Regions from separate parts of the Homo sapiens genome. Here regions 1, 2, 3, 4, 5 and 7 are each linked to region 6. Evidence: promoter capture Hi-C in 16 types of primary human blood cells and fetal thymus (Javierre and others, 2016). All regions are on one chromosome and are shown on one strand. Each heading gives the region's core, a stretch centred on a gene start or on the middle of the fragment in contact. The rest is flanking DNA. Distances are from core to core; before and after follow the strand shown.

Evidence for each region. The method cuts DNA at HindIII sites, captures the fragments that hold promoters and counts their contacts. A CHiCAGO score of 5 or more calls a contact.
Region 1: a fragment that was not itself captured here is called in contact with the fragment with the promoter of ZNF583 in region 6 in 5 of 17 cell types (activated CD4 T cells, naive CD8 T cells, total CD4 T cells and 2 more); the score reaches 7.7 in activated CD4 T cells.
Region 2: a contact is called between the fragment with the promoter of ZNF606 here and the fragment with the promoter of ZNF583 in region 6, in 1 of 17 cell types (neutrophils). The highest score is 7.7, in neutrophils.
Region 3: the fragment with the promoter of ZNF586 here is called in contact with the fragment with the promoter of ZNF583 in region 6 in 5 of 17 cell types (non-activated CD4 T cells, naive CD8 T cells, total CD4 T cells and 2 more); the score reaches 11.5 in non-activated CD4 T cells.
Region 4: a contact is called between a fragment that was not itself captured here and the fragment with the promoter of ZNF583 in region 6, in 4 of 17 cell types (total CD4 T cells, activated CD4 T cells, naive CD8 T cells and 1 more). The highest score is 7.2, in total CD4 T cells.
Region 5: a fragment that was not itself captured here is called in contact with the fragment with the promoter of ZNF583 in region 6 in 1 of 17 cell types (non-activated CD4 T cells); the score reaches 5.1 in non-activated CD4 T cells.
Region 7: a fragment that was not itself captured here is called in contact with the fragment with the promoter of ZNF583 in region 6 in 1 of 17 cell types (non-activated CD4 T cells); the score reaches 6.4 in non-activated CD4 T cells.

What each region holds. Positions count from the first base shown.
Region 1 is chr19:58,127,579-58,130,395 of GRCh38, reverse strand. It overlaps ZNF329 (zinc finger protein 329), which reads left to right. Exons shown (of 4, transcript NM_024620.4): 4 at 885-2,817. The coding sequence starts at 893. The coding sequence ends at 2,518. Among named protein-coding and RNA genes, the nearest start is that of ZNF329, 22 kb to the left of the region's middle. The HindIII fragment of the contact is 846 bases long and covers 848-1,693 here.
Region 2 is chr19:58,001,378-58,004,232 of GRCh38, reverse strand. ZNF606 (zinc finger protein 606) reads left to right here and starts at 1,413. Exons shown (of 7, transcript NM_001348022.3): 1 at 1,413-1,837. It overlaps ZNF606-AS1 (ZNF606 antisense RNA 1), which reads right to left and starts at 1,339. Exons shown (of 4, transcript NR_036508.1): 1 at 1,187-1,339; 2 at 897-1,022. RefSeq lists an enhancer at 1,062-1,481. The HindIII fragment of the contact is 14,498 bases long and covers 1-2,298 here.
Region 3 is chr19:57,768,242-57,770,941 of GRCh38, reverse strand. ZNF586 (zinc finger protein 586) reads right to left here and starts at 1,266. Exons shown (of 3, transcript NM_017652.4): 1 at 1,064-1,266. The coding sequence starts at 1,099. RefSeq lists enhancers at 1,032-1,281, 1,003-1,542. The HindIII fragment of the contact is 1,086 bases long and covers 263-1,348 here.
Region 4 is chr19:58,184,860-58,187,634 of GRCh38, reverse strand. ZNF274 (zinc finger protein 274) reads right to left here. Exons shown (of 8, transcript NM_133502.3): 3 at 1,797-1,923; 4 at 593-688. Among named protein-coding and RNA genes, the nearest start is that of ZNF274, 3.2 kb to the right of the region's middle. The HindIII fragment of the contact is 1,171 bases long and covers 930-2,100 here.
Region 5 is chr19:57,977,311-57,980,235 of GRCh38, reverse strand. It overlaps ZNF606 (zinc finger protein 606), which reads left to right. Exons shown (of 7, transcript NM_001348022.3): 7 at 1-2,925. The coding sequence ends at 1,935. Among named protein-coding and RNA genes, the nearest start is that of C19orf18, 4.2 kb to the right of the region's middle. The HindIII fragment of the contact is 910 bases long and covers 1,201-2,110 here.
Region 6 is chr19:56,402,937-56,405,831 of GRCh38, reverse strand. It overlaps ZNF583 (zinc finger protein 583), which reads right to left and starts at 1,500. Exons shown (of 5, transcript NM_152478.3): 1 at 1,380-1,500. RefSeq lists a silencer at 1,267-1,476 and an enhancer at 1,937-2,076. The HindIII fragment of the contact is 8,045 bases long and covers 1-2,895 here.
Region 7 is chr19:58,098,548-58,101,247 of GRCh38, reverse strand. It overlaps a transcript of ZSCAN18 not described here. Among named protein-coding and RNA genes, the nearest start is that of ZSCAN18, 1.7 kb to the right of the region's middle. The HindIII fragment of the contact is 7,928 bases long and covers 1-2,700 here.

The DNA of each region.
Region 1 (2,817 bases), core at 21-2,520, 1.7 Mb before region 6:
GGCCGACATGATCCAGTTTTTATAACAACCATGCAGGGCAGTCTTTGACAGTTTTTGTTTTGTTTTGTTTTTTGAGATGGAGTCTCACTCTGCCGCGTAGGCTGGAGTGCAGTGGTGTGATCTCAGCTCACTGCAACCTCTGCCTACCAGGTTGAAGTGATTCTCCTGCCTCAGCCTCCAGAGTAGCTGGGACTACAGGCATGTGCCACCACGCCTGGCTGATTTTTTTTGTATTTTTAGTAGAGACGGTGTTTCACCATGTTGGTCAGGCTGGTCTTGAACTCCTGACTTCAAATGATCCACCTGCCTCCACTTCCCAAAGTGCTGGGATTACAGGAGTGAACCACTGTGCCCCGCCAGGTCATTGACAGTTCTAAGACTTAGACCCAGAACTTTTAGGTCACCAAGCCTGTGCTTTGTCCTATCCATGAATGCAGAACTTTGATGACAGAGCTGGGGTGAGAACTGTTCCTTCAGTGCTGTTGTAAGCTCATTGTGAAGTCAGAGCTTTGGAAATGTGTACTGATGGGCAGTGTGTGACAGGGACAAGAATGCAGTGGCTGGGATGGAATTCTAGGGGGAGCAGGGATGCTTGGCCTCTGGTCTCTCACATCTCAAACTAATCCTTTTGGTGATGATTTATCCCGAGGTCCATTCCTCCTGCCTGCTCTCTAGGAAGATGAAAATGCTACATGGCTCTTTTTGAATCTGTTCTTGGTTCCATTCCTTGGCTACGATTTTACCTCTTCCTTGTATAAATTTGAATTTAAAAGAGAAAACAAGTAAAAAAATACACATCTTTACACCTAGCCCATCATCATTGTCTGTTTCTCTTACAGATAAAGCTTCATATACCTAAGTCTGCATTTTTCTTCTTTTTGCAGTTTGGGATATGAGATTGAAAATGACGACTCGGAATTTTCCTGAGAGAGAAGTACCCTGTGATGTAGAAGTGGAAAGATTCACAAGGGAAGTTCCCTGCTTGTCCAGTTTAGGTGATGGTTGGGACTGTGAGAACCAGGAGGGACACTTGAGGCAATCAGCTTTAACTCTGGAGAAACCAGGGACTCAGGAAGCAATTTGTGAATATCCTGGTTTTGGGGAGCATTTGATTGCAAGCTCAGACCTTCCACCGTCTCAGAGAGTTCTGGCAACAAATGGTTTCCATGCACCTGACTCAAATGTTAGTGGTCTGGATTGTGACCCCGCCTTACCCAGCTATCCTAAAAGTTATGCAGATAAGAGAACTGGTGACAGTGATGCCTGTGGAAAAGGCTTCAACCATTCCATGGAAGTTATTCATGGAAGAAATCCAGTGAGAGAGAAGCCCTACAAATACCCTGAAAGTGTTAAGTCTTTTAATCATTTTACCTCTCTTGGTCATCAGAAAATAATGAAAAGAGGCAAGAAATCGTATGAAGGTAAGAATTTTGAGAACATCTTTACTCTGAGCTCATCGCTTAATGAAAACCAGAGAAATCTCCCTGGAGAGAAACAATATAGATGTACTGAATGTGGCAAATGCTTCAAACGGAACTCTTCTCTTGTTTTGCATCACCGAACTCACACCGGAGAGAAGCCTTATACTTGTAATGAGTGTGGAAAGTCCTTCTCCAAGAACTACAACCTGATTGTGCATCAAAGAATCCACACAGGAGAGAAGCCCTATGAATGCAGTAAATGTGGGAAAGCTTTCAGTGATGGCTCAGCTCTGACACAGCACCAGAGAATTCACACAGGCGAGAAACCTTATGAATGCCTAGAGTGTGGAAAAACCTTCAACCGAAATTCATCCTTAATTTTGCACCAAAGAACTCATACAGGGGAAAAACCATATAGATGTAACGAATGTGGGAAACCCTTCACTGACATCTCCCACCTTACAGTGCATCTCAGAATCCACACCGGTGAGAAGCCCTATGAGTGTAGCAAATGTGGAAAGGCTTTCCGGGACGGCTCGTACCTCACCCAGCATGAGAGGACTCACACTGGAGAAAAGCCCTTTGAGTGTGCAGAGTGCGGGAAATCCTTCAACAGAAACTCTCACCTCATTGTGCATCAAAAGATCCATTCTGGGGAGAAACCCTATGAATGTAAAGAATGTGGCAAGACTTTCATCGAGAGTGCGTACCTCATCAGGCATCAGAGGATTCATACTGGCGAGAAGCCCTATGGCTGCAACCAGTGTCAGAAACTTTTCAGGAATATCGCTGGCCTCATTAGGCACCAGAGGACTCATACTGGTGAGAAGCCCTATGAGTGTAATCAGTGTGGCAAAGCCTTCAGGGACAGCTCCTGTCTGACCAAGCACCAGAGAATTCACACTAAGGAGACCCCATATCAGTGTCCAGAATGTGGGAAGTCCTTCAAGCAGAACTCTCACCTGGCAGTACATCAGAGACTCCATAGCAGGGAGGGTCCCAGCCGGTGTCCTCAGTGTGGAAAAATGTTCCAAAAGAGCTCATCCCTTGTTCGACATCAAAGAGCACACCTGGGAGAGCAACCCATGGAAACATAATGGTTGGGGGCCACATGAGTCTTCCAGTTCACTCTCACTCCTGTGTTTAGGAGGCGTGTCTTAGATCTGACTCCTCTCTGGTCAGTAGAAAAGAATCCTTTAAGCTATCCAGTGAATTGATGAATGTGAGACATTGCTGAGCCACACTGTTAAGTCTGCTCATTGGGGAACTCCAGAGACAACTTAGGATGAGGGCAGAAAAGTCTTTGGGGATGATTCAGTCTGTACCAGACATGACAACACACACACTGGAATGAAATGTGCAAACATGGGGGTGACACCACAGAGAGAACCTGTGA
Region 2 (2,855 bases), core at 164-2,663, 1.6 Mb before region 6:
CCTGTCCTACTTGAAATTTTCCTCTCCCTTGAATTCAGCCTGTCCTACTTGAACTTTTCCTCTCCCTCTGAAAGGGCTACTCCCCTTTGCCCACCCACAGTGAGTGCCAACACCACCCAACAACAAAAGCCCAACCCACAGGCCAGCTTTTTAAAATGATCCTCCATTACTAGTGGAAATATCTTCAAAATCTCTCTTGCCCACTGCTCACTCAAGTCTAGCTTCCTAAATGGCCATGCTTTCTTTGGTATCACCACCTACAGTCCCTCAGTCCCTTTTTTTGAGACAGAGTCTTGCCCTGCTGCCCAGGCTGGAGTGCAATGGCTTGATCTCGGCTTACTGTAGCCTCCGCTTCCCGGGTTCAAGCGATTCTCCTGCCTCAGCCTCCCAAGTAGCTGGGTACAGGTGCCCTCCACCAAGCCCGGCTAATTTTTGGTATTTTTAGTAGAGACGAGGTTTTATCATGTTGCCCAGACTGGTCTCGGAACTCCTGACCTCAGGCGATCCACCTGCCTTGGCCTCCCAAAGTGCTGGGATTACAGCTGTGAGCCACCGCGCCCGGCCCGTTTTTGTTTGTTTTAATGCCGGGTCTTGCTCTGTTGCCCAGGCTGAAGTGCAGTGGTGCGATCATAGCTCACTGCAACCTTGACCTCCCAGGCTCAAGCAATCCTTCCACCGCAACCTCCTAAGTAGCGGGGACTACAGGCGCGCGCCATCACACCGGGCTAATTTTTGTATTTTTTTTGTAGAGATGTGGTCTCGCTATGTTGCCCAGGGTGGTGTCGAACTCCTGAACTCAACTGATCCTCCCGCCACAGCTTCCCGAAGTGCTGGGACTACAGGAATGAGCCACCGCTCCCGAACCGCTCCATGCATATCGATAGAGGAAAACTCACAGGGTGCGTCGCTGGTAACCCATGCTCCCATAAAGCCTGGCCTCTGGAAAGAGACTTGGGAACGAGCCCTGACGTTCTCAGCCGTCGAGCTTCACAGAGAAGGGTAGCTCGAATTAGGTTCCTTATCTTAAAGAGAATAACAGCAGTCACTTTCTCACAATCTTGCGAACGCCAAATGGAAGGATCCCTCGAGAGCGCTGAGAACTCGCCGAGCTCCTCCCGGGAAACCCGGTACCACGAGGCGCCATTTTGCGGATGGGCAAACCGAGGCCCGCGGGGCCGCGACTTACCCAGGCCTTTTTGCAGTGGGAGGCGACGGTGGAGGAGGGTGGTCTGGGACCGGGACAACAAAGTCCATCCTGCCGCCGGCTTCGACGCAGGTGCCAGAAAGGTCCCAACCCCGCCCAGGCAGGGCGAGGCGGCGCGGCCCAGGAACCTGTCATGGCGGCGCCGCTGCCCGACGCCGGAAGTGCCCGCCTGGAACTACAGCTCCCAGCAGACCCCGCGGCGCGCTCCGGTCGACGCCGGGGAAGCAGCCGCCATTGTCCGCGGCTGAGGTGAGGCCTTTGCTCAGGCTGTGGGGCCGCCGTAGCTGCGGGGCTTGGGGGGTCAGGAGAGCCGGCTGGGAGAGGCGGCGTCAGGGTGGGTCCTGCGCCTGCCCTTTCCGCGCCGGCTTTGCGCCGTCGTTGCCGTCGGTTCTCCAGCCAGCAGCCTGCCTCCGGCCTCCCGCCTCCGGGCGTTCTTCGTTTTCTGGTCGGACGGGCCTGGGTGAACTCTGCTGCACGTCGGCTCCGCGGGCCTTTGTCCCCGAGGCCGCGCCGGGAGCTCCCAAGCGCACTCCTGGGCCGGACCTCGGCGCGGGACAAAAGCCAAACGCCCCAGGCGGGCAGACCCCGATCCTGCTGCGCCGCCTTCAAGGGGGACCGCCGGCCGCGAGCCAGGTGAGGCCGGGACGAGCTTTTGCAGCGTCGCGGCCGCGTCGGTCTTGAGGAGGAAATTTGGGTCGGGAGCTCTGGAAGCAGGTGATAAGGATGCTTCTGAGGCCATTGATGGGACGAATAACCCCGTTCGTTCCCCAGCCGTCGTTTCTCCCCCTGCCAGTTCACACAAAGCACTGTGAAGGACGTCAGACCTGGGTTGGAAACAGCTCCGGGTTCCCTTAAACATGCAGTGACGGCGGCGGTCACTGTCAAGTTGCAAATAATGGTGCAAAGTACGGTTTGCATTCTGCGTTTTCGCGCTGATTCCGGTGCTCCTGAGGCCCACTGTGTGTTCTAGTGCTTTATACACATACCCAGGAATCCATTCGAGAGGTTGCTGACTTGTACAAAGATCTGGAACCTGAGGAGTTAGGGGTCTGGGCGCCAGGCCCATCTCTAAGTCCTCCACACACACACAAGCTTAGGCTTAGTAAATCTTGGAGGTGAATTTTTTTTGGAGGTGGGATTAAATTTGCATAACATAATGTTCACTTTAAGCACTTAAAAGTGTGCAATTCACCGGTTTTATTGTATATTAATAAAGTTGTGCAATCATCCCCATTATCTAATTTTAGAACATTTCATCACCCCACAAAGAAACCCTTGTTCCCCTTAAGCAGTCACTCCCCATTTCATTTTTCCCCCAGCTCTAGGCAACCACTAATATATGAGGATTGCAAGTTGATTTTACAATAATTGTCAGATTAATCCAAAAGTTCCATCTGTGTTGTGACTGGCTGTCTCTTGGGAATAGCTGACAAATTTGTACCCTCTCATTCAGGATCATGCTCTTTTTTCCAGCTTATGCAAATTACCTTTCATTTCTCTCCAGGAATTGTGTTACTTTTTTGACATGTAAATTCTCTTTTCTTACGATGCTCCTTACAAGTTTTTTTGTTGCTTCGGTGGATGGATTCCCTTCTTTGTTCCCACTTGGTCTTCTGTGAGAAAGGACTAGTTTTGTCTTTTTTCACTTTTG
Region 3 (2,700 bases), core at 17-2,516, 1.4 Mb before region 6:
GAGGTCGAGGCCGTGCTGCGCCGTGATCGCGTCACCGCAACCCAGCCTGGGTGTTGAGTGAGAACCCGTCGCCGAAAAAAAAAAAAGATGCCAAGATCTAGACATGTGGGATAGGATGAGGACCAGTGAAGGACTAGAGCATCCCCTACTTCCTACTGTGGATTCTGTAAGTGCTTCTGTAGCCATGAGGTGTGCCAAAAGGCAGGGCTTTCACAAATGTGTCTGTGCTCGGATTTGATAGACTCAGGCTTCTCTGTAAGCTTTTTTTGGCCCTGCAGCCAGATGACTTCAGACTGAGTCTCTAATCTTGTGGCCCAGTGCTCAATGTCACCTCTCAATGATTCAACCTCTCAATGTCCTCATCACTGCCTTCAACTCTGTTCTTCCTTCGAACATCTTTTGGGAATCGCAACTCTAACACAGATTTCCTCCTTTGTTCAAAACTGTCCATGGCTTTTAGCGTCCTCACAGTCAAAGTTCAACCCTCAGCCTGGTACTGAAGAAACAACTCCGCCTCGGCCAGGCGCGGTGGCTCACGCCTGTATTCCCAGCACTTTGGGAGGCCGAGGTGGGCGGATCACCTAAGGTCAGGAGTTCGAGGCCAGCCTAGCCAACATGGTGAAACCCCGTGGTGGCGCATGCCTGTAATCCCAGCTACTCGGGAGGCTGAGGCAGGAGAATCGCTTGAACCGGGGAGGTGGAGCTTGCAGTGAGCCGAGATCGCGCCACTGCACTCCAGCCTGGGCGACAGAGTGAGACTCCGTCTCAAAAAAAAAAAAAAAAAGAAATAACTCCGTATCACACTTCTTTCCCAGTAGACACACGATGTCCCCGTGTTCCGCATCCTCCTGCCTCAGTCGCGCCTGCAGGCCTTTGCCCTCCGCCAGTCTCGCTCTGCCGACCGCATCAACTGGGTGTCGGAAACAGGGATCCCACCCGCCGGCGCCTCTCCGTCCCTGACAGAGGCCTGGGCTGCAGGGACGCGAGGAGGCGGCCCTCACGATCAGGGGCCTCAGGGTCTGGGTGGGTAGGGTGGGTAAGGCCCGGAGGTCGCAGCGCTCACCTGAGCAGGCGCCCTCAGAGCGGCTGCTGCCGCCATGACTCTGGGCGGGGGGGGAACGCGGGCTCGGCGGTGTTCCTGTCGTTGTCCTGTCCCGGGTCGCGACCAGCGGCGTCGCCGAACCTCAGATCCGCCTGTGTGCAATGGCCACAACCACTCCTCCCGAGCTCGTCCAGACCCAGCATCGCCGGATGGACCTGACAGGCCAAAATGGCTGCCACGGCTAGGACGCCGGAAGTCCTGGCTTGACTTTACGTGCCCCGGCAATGGCACGGCTTCTCTGAAGCTTCATTGGCTCAGCCACGTTACCATTTCGCAGGGCGGATTCTGGGTAATGTAGTTCCCAGACATGGGCAGCGCTTAAGGTGGCTTTCTTCCGACTTTCCGAAGAAAGGGGCAAGCTCCACTGCGAGGGGCGCTAGGAAATGGCGACTCCAGGTCCAGATGCGGAGGAGGGTCTCCCATCTTAGAAGAGGCCATACGCACATTTCTGGGGGTACTGTGTGCAACTGATTGCCCGCGTGTTTGGAGACTTCTTATTTCAGAATTTGTGATGCTCGGCTTCTTCCTTTTTTTTTTTTTTTTGTCTTTTTTTTAAGACATAGTTCTCTCTGTCACTCAGGCTGGGGTGCAGTGGTGTGATCTTGGCTCACTGCAGCCTATGCCTCCCGGGTTCAAGCGATTCTCGTGCCTCAACCATCCGAGTAGCTGGGATTACAGGCGTGTGCCACCATACCCTGCTAATTTTTGTATTTTTAGTAGAGACGGGGTTTCCTCATTTTGGCCAGGCTGGTCTCGAACTTCTGGCCTCAAGTGATCTGCCTGCAATGGTCTACCGAAGTGCTAGGATTACAGGCGTGAACCACCGTTCTCAGCCCATTAGCAACACTTTTATTTATATCTTTAACCTACAGATTCCTCTAGAAATCTGATATCAACATCAAAAAGCTAATGAGACAAATGCTATTATGTTACAGGACAATGGCTGCGGTGTTCAAACATGGAGTATGTATGCATGAGAGAAGAGAGAGACCCTCTCACATTGTTTTATATTCAGTAAAAACAACAAGGAAGTAAAACCAAAGACAGGCAACCCCGCGCCAGGCCCGAAACCAGGCCTAGGCCCGCCTGGCCTAAACCCAGTAGTTAAAAATCAACTTATGATTTAGAAGCCGATGTTATTCATAGATTCCTTAGATTGTATAGAAGAACATTGTGAAACTCCCTGCCCTGTTCTGTTCCTCCCTGACCACCGGTGCATGCAGCCCCTGTCACATACCCCTTGCTTGCTCAAATCAATCACGACCCTTTCATGTGAAATCTTTAGTGTTGTGAGCCCTTAAAAGGGACAGAAATTGTGCACTCCGGGAGCTCAGATTTTGAGACAGTAGCTGGCCAATGCTCCCAGCTGAATAAAGCCCTTCCTTCTGCAACTCGGTGTCTGAGAGGTTTTGTCTGCGGCTCGTCCTGCTACATGCACAGGGTGCTTTTACACTGAGATATTTCAAGTGCCTTAAATCCATGCGTTCACCTCTTTGCTGGCAAGTGCTTATCATTGTCAGTGGCATTGGAATCAGAGTGACTCCATCTTGAAAATGGGCTGGATAAAGTAAGGCTGAGAAATACTCGGCTGCATTCCC
Region 4 (2,775 bases), core at 266-2,765, 1.8 Mb before region 6:
ACCAGCCTGGGCAACATGGTGAAACACTGTCTCTACAAAAAAACAATTAAACGGGCATGGTGGTACATGCCTATAGATCCAGCTACCTGGAAGGCTGAGGTCGGAGGACAGCTTGAGTCCAGGACGCGGAGGGTGCAGTGAGCTGAGATCATGCCACTGCACTCCAGCCTCGGTGACAGAGACCCTGTCTCCAAAACAAAAAGAAGCTGACTTGTCTGTATTATAACACCCCCAAAATGTGTATATATATTCACATACATTCACGTAAGCCTATATAAGAAAGTCTGGCTGGAAATACACACCAGGGTTACCAGTGATTATGAGGGGAGGGCAGTAGACAATGCGTGTAACAGACTAAGGGAGCCCCTACTGTCAACACAAGTATCACCTGCCACCAGCAACAGGTTCACTTTCAACCAAGTAGGACACTGCTGACTGTGGAGCCAGAGAAAAACTTCGAGTTTGGTTCTGCAACTGCTCATCACAGCATCCCACCTGGGGTATCCCAATGTCTACTGCTTTTCCAAGATACTGGTCCCTGACTCATCAGTTGGCCCCTTCCCTGTGGGGGCTTCCCATGTCTGGTTCTCACCTGGAATGGTGTCTTGAGGAATTCCTCTCTCCACTGGCCAGAAATCTTCTGCCTCCTCTAACTGAGATACCACATCTGGTTTGGAAAGCTGATGTTCTGCTCAAAGGAAAAGAGACAGGGCTTGTGGGGGTCTGTGTTCAGGAGAAAATGCTATCCTACTGCAGCACAAGCCGTCTCCAGCTTCTCCCCTGCTAAGGCACATGACTTCTGGCCTAGAGCAGTGAACACAACTCCATCCATCCCTGTTGTTGGCTTTCCTAGACTCCTTTGCCAAGCAGCTAAGGGGTCCAGTTCTGGTCAGCCAGACACAAAGGGAGATCGGTCAGCTGGGAAAGCTTTTGCTTTCTGGTTAAACATGACAGCTGTGAAAGGGCTACCCCTTCTCCTTGTTTCTGCCTTGAACACAGATGCAATGCTTGGAGCCACAGCTGTGCAATGACTAGGGGGAACATGGAAAGGTTCACAATAACCAGAGTTTGAAGGGACAGGCTTTTTTTTTTTTTTTTTGAGACGGAGTCTTGCTCAGTTGCCCAAGCTGGAGTGCTGTGATCTGATCTCAGCTCACTGCAATCTCCTCCACCTCCCATGTTCAAGCAGTTCTCCTGGCTCAGCCTCCTGAGTAGCTGGGGTGCTCGGCTAATTTTTGTATTTTTAGTAAAGACAGGGTTTCATCATGTTGGTCAGGTTGGTCTAGAACTCCTGACCTCAACTGATCTGCCTGCCTCAGCCTCCCAAAGTGCCAGGATTACAGGCGTAAGCTACCGTGCCTGGCAGGGACAGGCTCTTTGATGCTACTCCTAAGCTGTTGGGACACTGGCATCGCATTGTCTGGAATTTCTGTGGAGTTTCTTTTTTTTTTTTTTTTTAATAGAGACACGGTCTATGTTGCCCATGCTGGTCTCAAACTCCTGGGCTCAAGCAATCCTCCTGCTTCAGTCTCCTAAAGTGAGCCACCATGCCTGGCCGGAACTCTTGTTGCAAGAACAATAAGCATCCACTACTGCAGCTGAAAACATCCCTGACAGACCCATCTCCCTGGTATTCAGGGAGGGATGGACTAGGCAATGATTCAGAAGTCATACTGAAAAGCTGCCCTTTTCCTACTGGTGCCCCTGCAGTGTGAGCCCAAGCAGACACATACTTCAGAGGTGCTACATTTGTGCTACAAAGCACAGATCCTTCTTGACCTGGAGGCCAGCCTTACCCACTGAGACCAGGTTCCTGTAGTTCTCCAGCATCACTTCCCTGTACAGGGACTTCTGTTTGAGGTCCAGCAGTCCCCACTCTTCCGGGGTAAAACCCAGTGTTACATCTTCAAAGGTCACTGGTTCCTAAAAATCCAGATTCTTGTTCAGCCACAGGCCATCCGCATCCACGACAAAAGAAAGACAGGGGAGGCTGACCAGGCCAGTGAAAGCACAGAATGGTCTACAAGATGACCCAAGGGCATTTTGGGAGTCTCATCCTGAGTTCCTGTCTTTGTCTGAAACCCCAAGCAAACCCAAGCTTGACTCTATTCAGGTTACAATAAGGAGAGCAACACATGAGATCTCTGTAGCATATGAAAATCTGTCCATTTTATTTATTTATTTATTTATTTAATTTATTTATTTATTGTTTTGAGACAGAGTCTCACTCTGTCTCCTAGTGGAGTGCAGTGGCGCAATCTTGGCTCACTGCAGCCTCCACCTCCCAGGTTCAAGCGATTCTCCTGCCTCAGCCTCCTGAGTAGCTGGGATTACAGGCGCATACCACCATGCCCGGCTAATTTTTGTATTTTTAGTAGAGATGGGGTTTCACCATGTTGGTCAAGCTGGTCTCGAACTCCTGACCTTGTGATCTGCCTGCCTCGGCCTCCCAAAGTGCTGGGATTACACATGTGAGCCACCGCACCCGGCCCTATTTTTCTTTTCTTTTTTTTTTGAGACGGAGTCTCTCTCTGTCGCCCAGGCTGGAGTGCAGTGGCGCCATCTCGGCTCACTGCAAGCTCCGCCTCCCCGGTTCACGCCATTCTCCTGCCTCAGCCTCCCGAGTAGCTGGGACTACAGGCGCCCGCCACCACGCCCGGCTAATTTTTTGTATTTTTTTAAGTAGAGACGGGGTTTCACTATGTTAGCCAGGATGGTCTCAATCTCCTGACCTCGTGATCCACCTGCCTCGGCCTCCCAAAGTGCTGGGATTAC
Region 5 (2,925 bases), core at 406-2,905, 1.6 Mb before region 6:
AGCATTTTTGAGGAAGAACAATCCCATGGCATGAAGTTGGAAAGATATATATGGGATGATCCTTGGTTCTCCAGGTTAGAAGTTTTGGGATGTAAAGACCAATTAGAAATGTACCACATGAACCAGAGTACAGCTATGAGGCAGATGGTCTTCATGCAAAAGCAAGTACTATCCCAGAGAAGCTCTGAATTCTGTGGACTTGGGGCAGAGTTTAGCCAGAACTTAAACTTTGTTCCATCTCAGAGAGTTTCTCAGATAGAACATTTCTATAAGCCTGATACACATGCTCAAAGTTGGAGATGTGACTCAGCCATAATGTATGCAGATAAGGTTACCTGTGAAAATAATGATTATGACAAAACTGTTTATCAGTCCATTCAACCTATTTACCCTGCAAGAATACAAACTGGAGATAATCTTTTCAAATGTACTGATGCTGTTAAATCTTTCAATCATATAATACATTTTGGTGATCATAAAGGAATTCACACAGGAGAAAAACTCTATGAATATAAGGAATGCCATCAAATCTTTAACCAGAGCCCATCATTTAATGAACACCCAAGGCTTCATGTTGGAGAAAACCAGTATAATTACAAAGAATATGAGAATATCTTTTATTTCTCATCCTTTATGGAACATCAAAAAATTGGTACTGTAGAGAAAGCGTATAAATACAATGAATGGGAGAAAGTCTTTGGGTATGACTCTTTCCTTACTCAACATACAAGCACTTACACTGCAGAGAAACCCTATGACTACAATGAATGTGGGACGTCTTTCATCTGGAGCTCTTACCTTATTCAACATAAGAAAACTCATACTGGAGAAAAACCCTATGAATGTGATAAATGTGGAAAAGTTTTTAGGAATCGCTCAGCCCTTACGAAACATGAACGGACTCACACTGGAATAAAACCCTATGAATGTAATAAATGTGGAAAAGCCTTCAGCTGGAATTCTCATCTTATTGTACATAAGAGAATTCATACAGGAGAAAAACCTTATGTTTGTAATGAGTGTGGGAAATCTTTCAACTGGAACTCTCATCTTATTGGACATCAGAGGACTCATACAGGAGAGAAACCTTTTGAATGTACTGAATGTGGGAAATCATTCAGCTGGAGCTCCCATCTTATTGCCCATATGAGAATGCATACTGGAGAGAAACCCTTTAAATGTGATGAATGTGAAAAAGCTTTTAGGGACTACTCAGCCCTTAGTAAACATGAAAGAACTCATTCTGGAGCAAAACCATATAAATGTACTGAATGTGGAAAATCCTTCAGCTGGAGCTCCCATCTTATTGCCCATCAGAGAACTCACACGGGAGAGAAACCATATAACTGTCAGGAATGTGGCAAAGCATTCAGAGAACGCTCAGCCCTCACTAAACATGAGATAATTCATTCTGGAATTAAGCCCTATGAATGTAATAAATGTGGAAAATCCTGTAGCCAGATGGCTCACCTTGTTAGACATCAAAGGACTCATACTGGAGAAAAACCCTATGAATGCAATAAATGTGGAAAATCCTTCAGTCAGAGCTGTCACCTTGTTGCTCATCGGAGAATTCACACTGGTGAGAAACCCTATAAATGTAATCAGTGTGAAAGATCCTTTAACTGTAGTTCTCACCTCATTGCACACCGGAGAACTCATACTGGAGAGAAACCATACAGGTGTAATGAATGTGGGAAAGCATTTAATGAGAGTTCATCCCTTATTGTACACCTAAGAAACCATACTGGAGAAAAGCCCTACAAATGTAATCATTGTGAAAAAGCATTTTGTAAGAATTCTTCCCTTATTATTCATCAGAGAATGCATAGTGGAGAGAAACGCTTTATATGCAGTGAATGTGGAAAAGCCTTTAGTGGTCACTCAGCCCTACTTCAACACCAGAGAAATCACAGTGAAGAGAAACTGAATTGAATTTATGCGAGTTTTTCGTTTCTTGTACATTTGACAACACATTGAGGAAAACCCTATAAACATAATCAAGAGGGGACATTTTTCATTAAGAGTTCAGTAAGACTTCTCCCACATTATTTACTAGAAAATATCATCTTAGAAGAAACCCCATGAAGGAAAAGAATAGGGAAAAGCTTTCAGCAGTTATTTAGCCCTTACTCAAAATCAGATAATTAACAATGAAGGAAACTCTAAACTCCCCTTATGGTCTACCAGTAATTCATACTTGAGGACCATGACTGTGGGGAATGAGGCATCTTTTAGCAAGAGCTCTCACCAATTGTAGATTGGTGTGAATTGCTAAGGGAAAAACCTTATGCAGAGAAAAGTTTTTGACTGGAAATACACTGTTTTGCATCAAGCTGGAGTACTGGATGGAAAACTCTACAATAACATTTTGTGCATAATTGTAGAAATACAGATTTTGTTGTTATAAGGGGAGGGTCTGGGTGCCCAGGAGTAGAATATGAAGTGCTAAATCTGAATGTAAGAAAAATAATAGTATTGAATGGGGTATTTACTGTTGATTAACCTCCTTAGAGAAAATTAATGAATGAGATGACTAACGGTAGAAAAGTTATTGCCTAGGAGTGTGAGACTGATGTTGCTGGACAGAAAGTGATCCTTAGCCCAGTGTGTCAGCGTCCATTGTTACTCATCACTGCATTGTTGGGCAATTAGTTTGTAATTTGTTTTAGGCAATCACTATAAATTATAATTATGGACACTGCATCAGTATACATAACATGAAGGAATAAAAAGGATACAGAATTGTATATACATACTTACTGTAACACATCTAAAAAAATGTATATGGGTAAGGACCTGAAAGATCCATGGAAAAGTTAACCCAGTTGAGATTTTTAAAAAGTTTTACAAATACATATAACACTTATGTGCTGGGCTTTCTTTTAAATGCTTTCCAAGTGTTAACTTGTTTAGTCCCCTTTA
Region 6 (2,895 bases), core at 251-2,750:
GGTAACTATTCCCTATCAATTGTTGGGAGGATTCTGAAATGATCTACATAAAGCATTGAGCACAGTGCTTAATTTTCATCTTTCTGTCATTTATTTTCATAACCAGCACATGGTAGGTCTCCCATTCCTTTTTCCTTTTAAATTCCTCACGTGCCCCCAGAGACTGAGAGGGATGGAAAAACTACTGTGCCAGAGGACAAGCAGCCAGCGTGGTCAGCTTTTCAGGCTTAAGGCTGAGGCTCCTGTCTGTCTCTCCCTTTTCAGCTCTCGTCCCTCCCTTTCTCCATCTTTTCCCCTTTATCTCAATCTTTCTGTCTCTCCACCACAACAGCAGTCTCCCAAACCCCAGAGCACACCAGCATCTCCAAGCACCCACACAGCTTCCTGCCCACACAAATCACAGACAACAAACCACATAGTTTCTCATTCTGGCACCTCCCCTGGCAACCTATGGACATGCCCCCACATTGTAGCCCGCCCTGCTCTCACAATGGGTCATATAAGGCCATTCTCAGTCACACTGTCACACTCACTGTCGGGATGACATACAGTGCTAAGTCACACCATCTCCCTCAGTCTCACATAATCACACACACTGTCATGCACAATCTCAAACACTGTCACATACAATCTTAGTCCAACAACAAAAACTCTGTTCACATACAGTTTCACATACAGTGACACAGTCTCACACACTGTCACACAAATTCTGTCGCAGTTTCATGTGGTCCCATATCAACAGCCACACACCGTACACAACCACACATAGCCTCACACACGGTGACATGGTCTCACATACTGTCACAGTCTCATCTAATCCTACACACACGGTCAAGCTCTGTTCACAAAGTCACACACACTGTCACACAGTCTTACATTATCCCACACACACAGGTCACACACACAGTGACATGGTCTTACACACTGTTCACACGTGGTCTACACATAATGACAGTTTAACACTGTCACACATTCCCAGTCTCACACATGGTGACGTGGTCTTAAGCACATACAGTGTCACACAGTCCCACACGGTCCCATATACTGTCAAAGGCTCCCGCATACACCGGGGCAACGGTCTCATACTGTCGCACACATTCTCACACCCAGTCTCATACTGTCACACATAGTCCCACATTTGTCCCACATGGTCTCACACTGACACACATATTCACACACGGCCTCACATTCTCACACTGTCACACACGGTCTCAAATTCTCACACAGTCACACATGGTCTCACACACGATTCCACACTGTCAAACACATTGTCACACACGGTTCCTTAATGTCTCACACATTCTCACACACTGTCACACACGGTCCCACACATGGTGGCATGGCCGCTCCCGGCGTCAGCTCCATCCCGCGCTCCTCACCGCCTCCTCCCTCCAGTGGGCACCTCCTTCGGCGCGGTCCTTGGAGGCCGGGGCTGGGCCAGGGCCCGGGCCAGGGCTCGATCCTGGCCGGCGGCCGCGCTCACAAAGGCGCCGCAGCCCTAGGGCAGGCCGCAGGGGCCGCTGGGAAATGGAGTCCGGGGCCGGCGCGGCGCAGAGGATGCTGGGATGTTGGCCGAGGGCCCCGGGCGGCCGCAGATCCCGCCGCTCAGTTGCGGGTAGTTACTGCTGCGCCCCTTTCCCTAGTAAGCCCACCTCCGCTGGCCTTCAGAATCCCACCCGGACCAGCTGAGCCCTCTCAGGCCGTTCGACTGTCCGCTCCCCCACCCGTTCCACCCGTTCCACCTGCGCAGGCGCAGCTGGTTCAGGTCCCCAAAGGCTGCCAGGCCGGGGTGCCAGCGCGGTGAGGCGCACGCGCAGTGACCGCGTCCGCGCTCCAGCGCTCCGGGTGGGGCTGTGAGTCCATCGCTGAGAAAAGGGAGCTGGAGGACCAGTGTGGAGCCTGAGCCAGCTGGAGAGGGGCCCGGTAGGATGTACGTGTGATTAAGCGCTCTGGCGGCCCGGGCTTTCTCTTTCCCTTTCTGTTTCTTCTCTCTCCGCCTTGCCCTGTCTTTCATTCGCCACTTATTGAGCGCCTGCTGTATCGGGCACTGTCGTGGGCCCTGGGCACACAGCAGTGAACAAGCAGACAAAATCCCCACCTCATGGAGCAGCATTCTAATGCGGGAGGAATTCAATAGGAAAAAATTAATAATAAAGGACACTGATGCATATTGGGAAGTAATGCGTATTATCAAGAAAAGCGAAGCAGAGTATTAAGATCATTCTTTCAGTTCTTCATTCTTTCAGTTATGCCCTCTGAATCAGTGGAAAAAACGCAAGGTGCATTTTTTTCTATTATCTCAACGACAACTAATCATAACAGAAGACTTTTCTGACCAAATATAGGGGAGTTTCCCACACATCTCAAGCAAGCAATGAGTTCAGTGAGTTCTGCAGCGGGCACCAGCTGGGTGTCCTCCAGTTTAATTCCGACGCCGTCTACTTGGAGATGGGTCAGACACCATTCGCTGAGGGCTCAGTCCCCAAGCCTGCCTCCCCCTTCCCACTTCCCACTAAAGTCTAGCCTCTGGAACATCTGACTCCACCACCTTCAAATTGGGATTTTCACCACCCCCTCTTTGCGGTTCGATATTTTGCTAGAGTGGCTCACGGAACTCAGGAAACACTTATGTTTACTAGTTTATTATAAAGGATATTACAAATGATATAGATGAAGAGATGCGTAGGGCAAAGTACAGAAAAAAGGGTGTTGCACCTTCCAGTAACCTCCACATGTTCAGCTGGGTGGAAGCTCTCTAAACCCTGTCTTTTGGGAGTTTTACAGAGGCTTCATTACATAGGCATGGTTGATTAAAATCCCGTCCCCTCCTTAGGGTTGGGGGTGGGGTTGAATGTCCCAACCTTCTAGTCATGTCTTGGTCTTTCCATAACCAGT
Region 7 (2,700 bases), core at 182-2,681, 1.7 Mb before region 6:
GGCAGGAGAATGGCGTGAACCCGGGAGGTGGAGCTTGCGGTGAGCCGAGATCGCGCCACTGCGCTCCAGCCTGGGCAACTGAGCAAGACTCTGTCTCAAAAAAAAAAAAAAAAAAAAAAAAAGTGGGAGGAATAACTGCACCTGATGTTGTTACTCTGTAGCCGTGGTAACCCAATGTGGTATTGGCAGACACATAGATCAGTGGAACGGAATCGAGAACCCGGAAATAGACCTGCAAAGATATTCCTGACTGATTTTTTAAGGAGCAAAAGCTATTCAATGCAGGAAAGATAGCCTTTTCCAGATGGTGCAAGAACAATTGGCCATCTGTGGTGTAATAAAACCTACATTTCATCTTTTTTCTTTTTTTTTTTAGATGGAGTTTTGCTCTTTTGCCCAGGCTGGAGTGCAGTGGTGCGATCTCAACTCACTGCAGCCCCTGCCTTCCAGTTTCAAGCTGCCTCAGCCTCTCGAGCAGCTGCAATTACAGGCACCTGCCACCATGCCTGGCTAATTTTTGTATTTTTAGTAGAGCCAGGGTTTCACCATGTTGACCTCGTGATCCGCCCGCTGGCCTCCTAGAGTGCTGGGATTACAGGCATGAGCCACCGCGCCTGGCCCTTACATTTGATCTTTATCCCTGGTTCCTGGCACAGAGCTAAAAGCCTTGGAATTTTGTGAATAATAGGAATAGGGTTTGCAATTCATAAGGAGCCCGTTTCGACCACACCTGAGTTTATGCTAATGAGGTGACTCCAGTGGGACCCATAGATATCTTCAGGATGGGGATAGTCACCTTAAAGAAGGTATGGACCCTCTCTCTGCCCCACGATTGAGAGAGCTGGGTTGGTGAACACATCTGAGTGCTGGGAGGATGGCTCACCCAGACGGTACATGGATGCACTGCACCTTCAGTGCCCCTGACCAGACCTTAGCTGTGCATCTCTTCCATTTGGCAGTTCCTGAGTTATATCCATTAAAATAAACTGGAAAGACTGGGCATGGTGGCTCATGCCTGTAATCCCAGCACTTTGGGAGGCCATGGTGGGAGGATTGCTTGAGCCCGGGGGTCTGAGACCAGCCTTAGCATTATAGTGAGACCCCATCTCTTAAAAAAAAAAATTAGCTGGGTATGGTAGCGCACACCTGTAGTTCCAGCTACTCGGGAGGCTGAGGTGAGGATCACTTGAGCCTGGAAGGTCAAGGCTGCAGTGATTCATGATGGCACCACTGCACTCTAGCCTCAGTGACAGAGTGAGACCTTGTCTCAAAAAAAAAAAAAACATAGCTTTCAAAACTGAGCAATTTTTTTAAAAATTAGAAAATGGGCAAAAGATACGAACAGATACTTTAATGAAGAGGGTATACAAATGCCAAAAAAATCATTAAAGTGTGCTCAAACTTGTTAGCAATTAAGGGAAATGCAAATTGAAACCACAATGATATATCAGTACATACCTATCAGAATGGCCAAAATAAAAAATAGCAAAACACAAATGCTGATAAAAATGTGAAGTGGATTCACACATTCATTGGTGGTGGGAGTGTAAAATGGTCCAGCTACTCTGCATGAGAGTGTGGCAGCTTCTTACAACACTAATAAGCACGTGTTCATTGTGTGACCTAGAAACTGCACTCTTGGGCTTTTATCCCAGAAAAGTGAAAACTTACGTTCACAGAAAAATCTGTACACGAATGTTCATAGCAGCTTTATTTTTAATAGCAAAATACTTAAAACGATCCTAATATCTCTCAGTGGGAGAAGGTTTAAACTGCTATATACCATAGAATACTACTTCTCAATAAAATGGAATGAACTGTTGATACATACTACTTCAATGCCTCTCAAAGGAATTATGTTCAGTGAAAAAGCCAATCTGAAGAGGCCACATACTGTATGATCCCACTTATATGACACTGTGAAGGCAAAATTGTAGCAGTGGACTACTTAGATTAGCTGTTCCTGGGGTTATGGGTGGGGAGGGAGTGACTACCAAGAGGCAGCAGGAGGATTTTTGGGCAGTGGAGCTATTCTTTGTCCCGAGTTTGTTGGTGGATATGAGTTAAAATTCATAAAACTGAATACCAAAATGTGTGGTGTATGTAAATTTAAAATATATAAACTGTTCAGATATACATTTTAAAAATCAGTTCACACAAAAACGACCAAAATGGCATCCTCATAAGCGCCTCTATCTGGAAAACTGAAATGGGAAGCAGCTCCTGGCCCTATCCTGCCTTCCAGGGGGGCTACATTTATATGGGGCTTTGCCAAAGCCCTCACCCCAGCTGCCACTCACATTTCCCTCATTTCAGCAGCTCCTGAATCCCTGGGGTGGGTAATCTTTGAGTTCTATCCACTCCTTGAAACTGTAGAACCCATTTTAGCGCATCAGTGTCTCTGGGTCTCCACCTCTTGTCTCCCCAGTACTGGGTCTGCTGGTCCCTGTCTCTGTATCTCTGTCCAGATCTGTCTCAGCCTCGAGTGCTCCTTTTCTCTGGGTCTCTCTCTTTTCCTGAGCCTGAGCTGGTCTCTTTCTTTTCTTGAGCCCATGCTGGTCTTTCCCTTTCTTGATCCTGGGCTGGTCTCCCTCCTTTCTTAACCGTGAGCTGGTCTCTCCCTTTCCGTGTCCGACTCTGTACATCTCTGTTTCGGGGACCCCAGGGCGTCTTGGTCTGCCCCCGAGCGTCTGTGGGCCT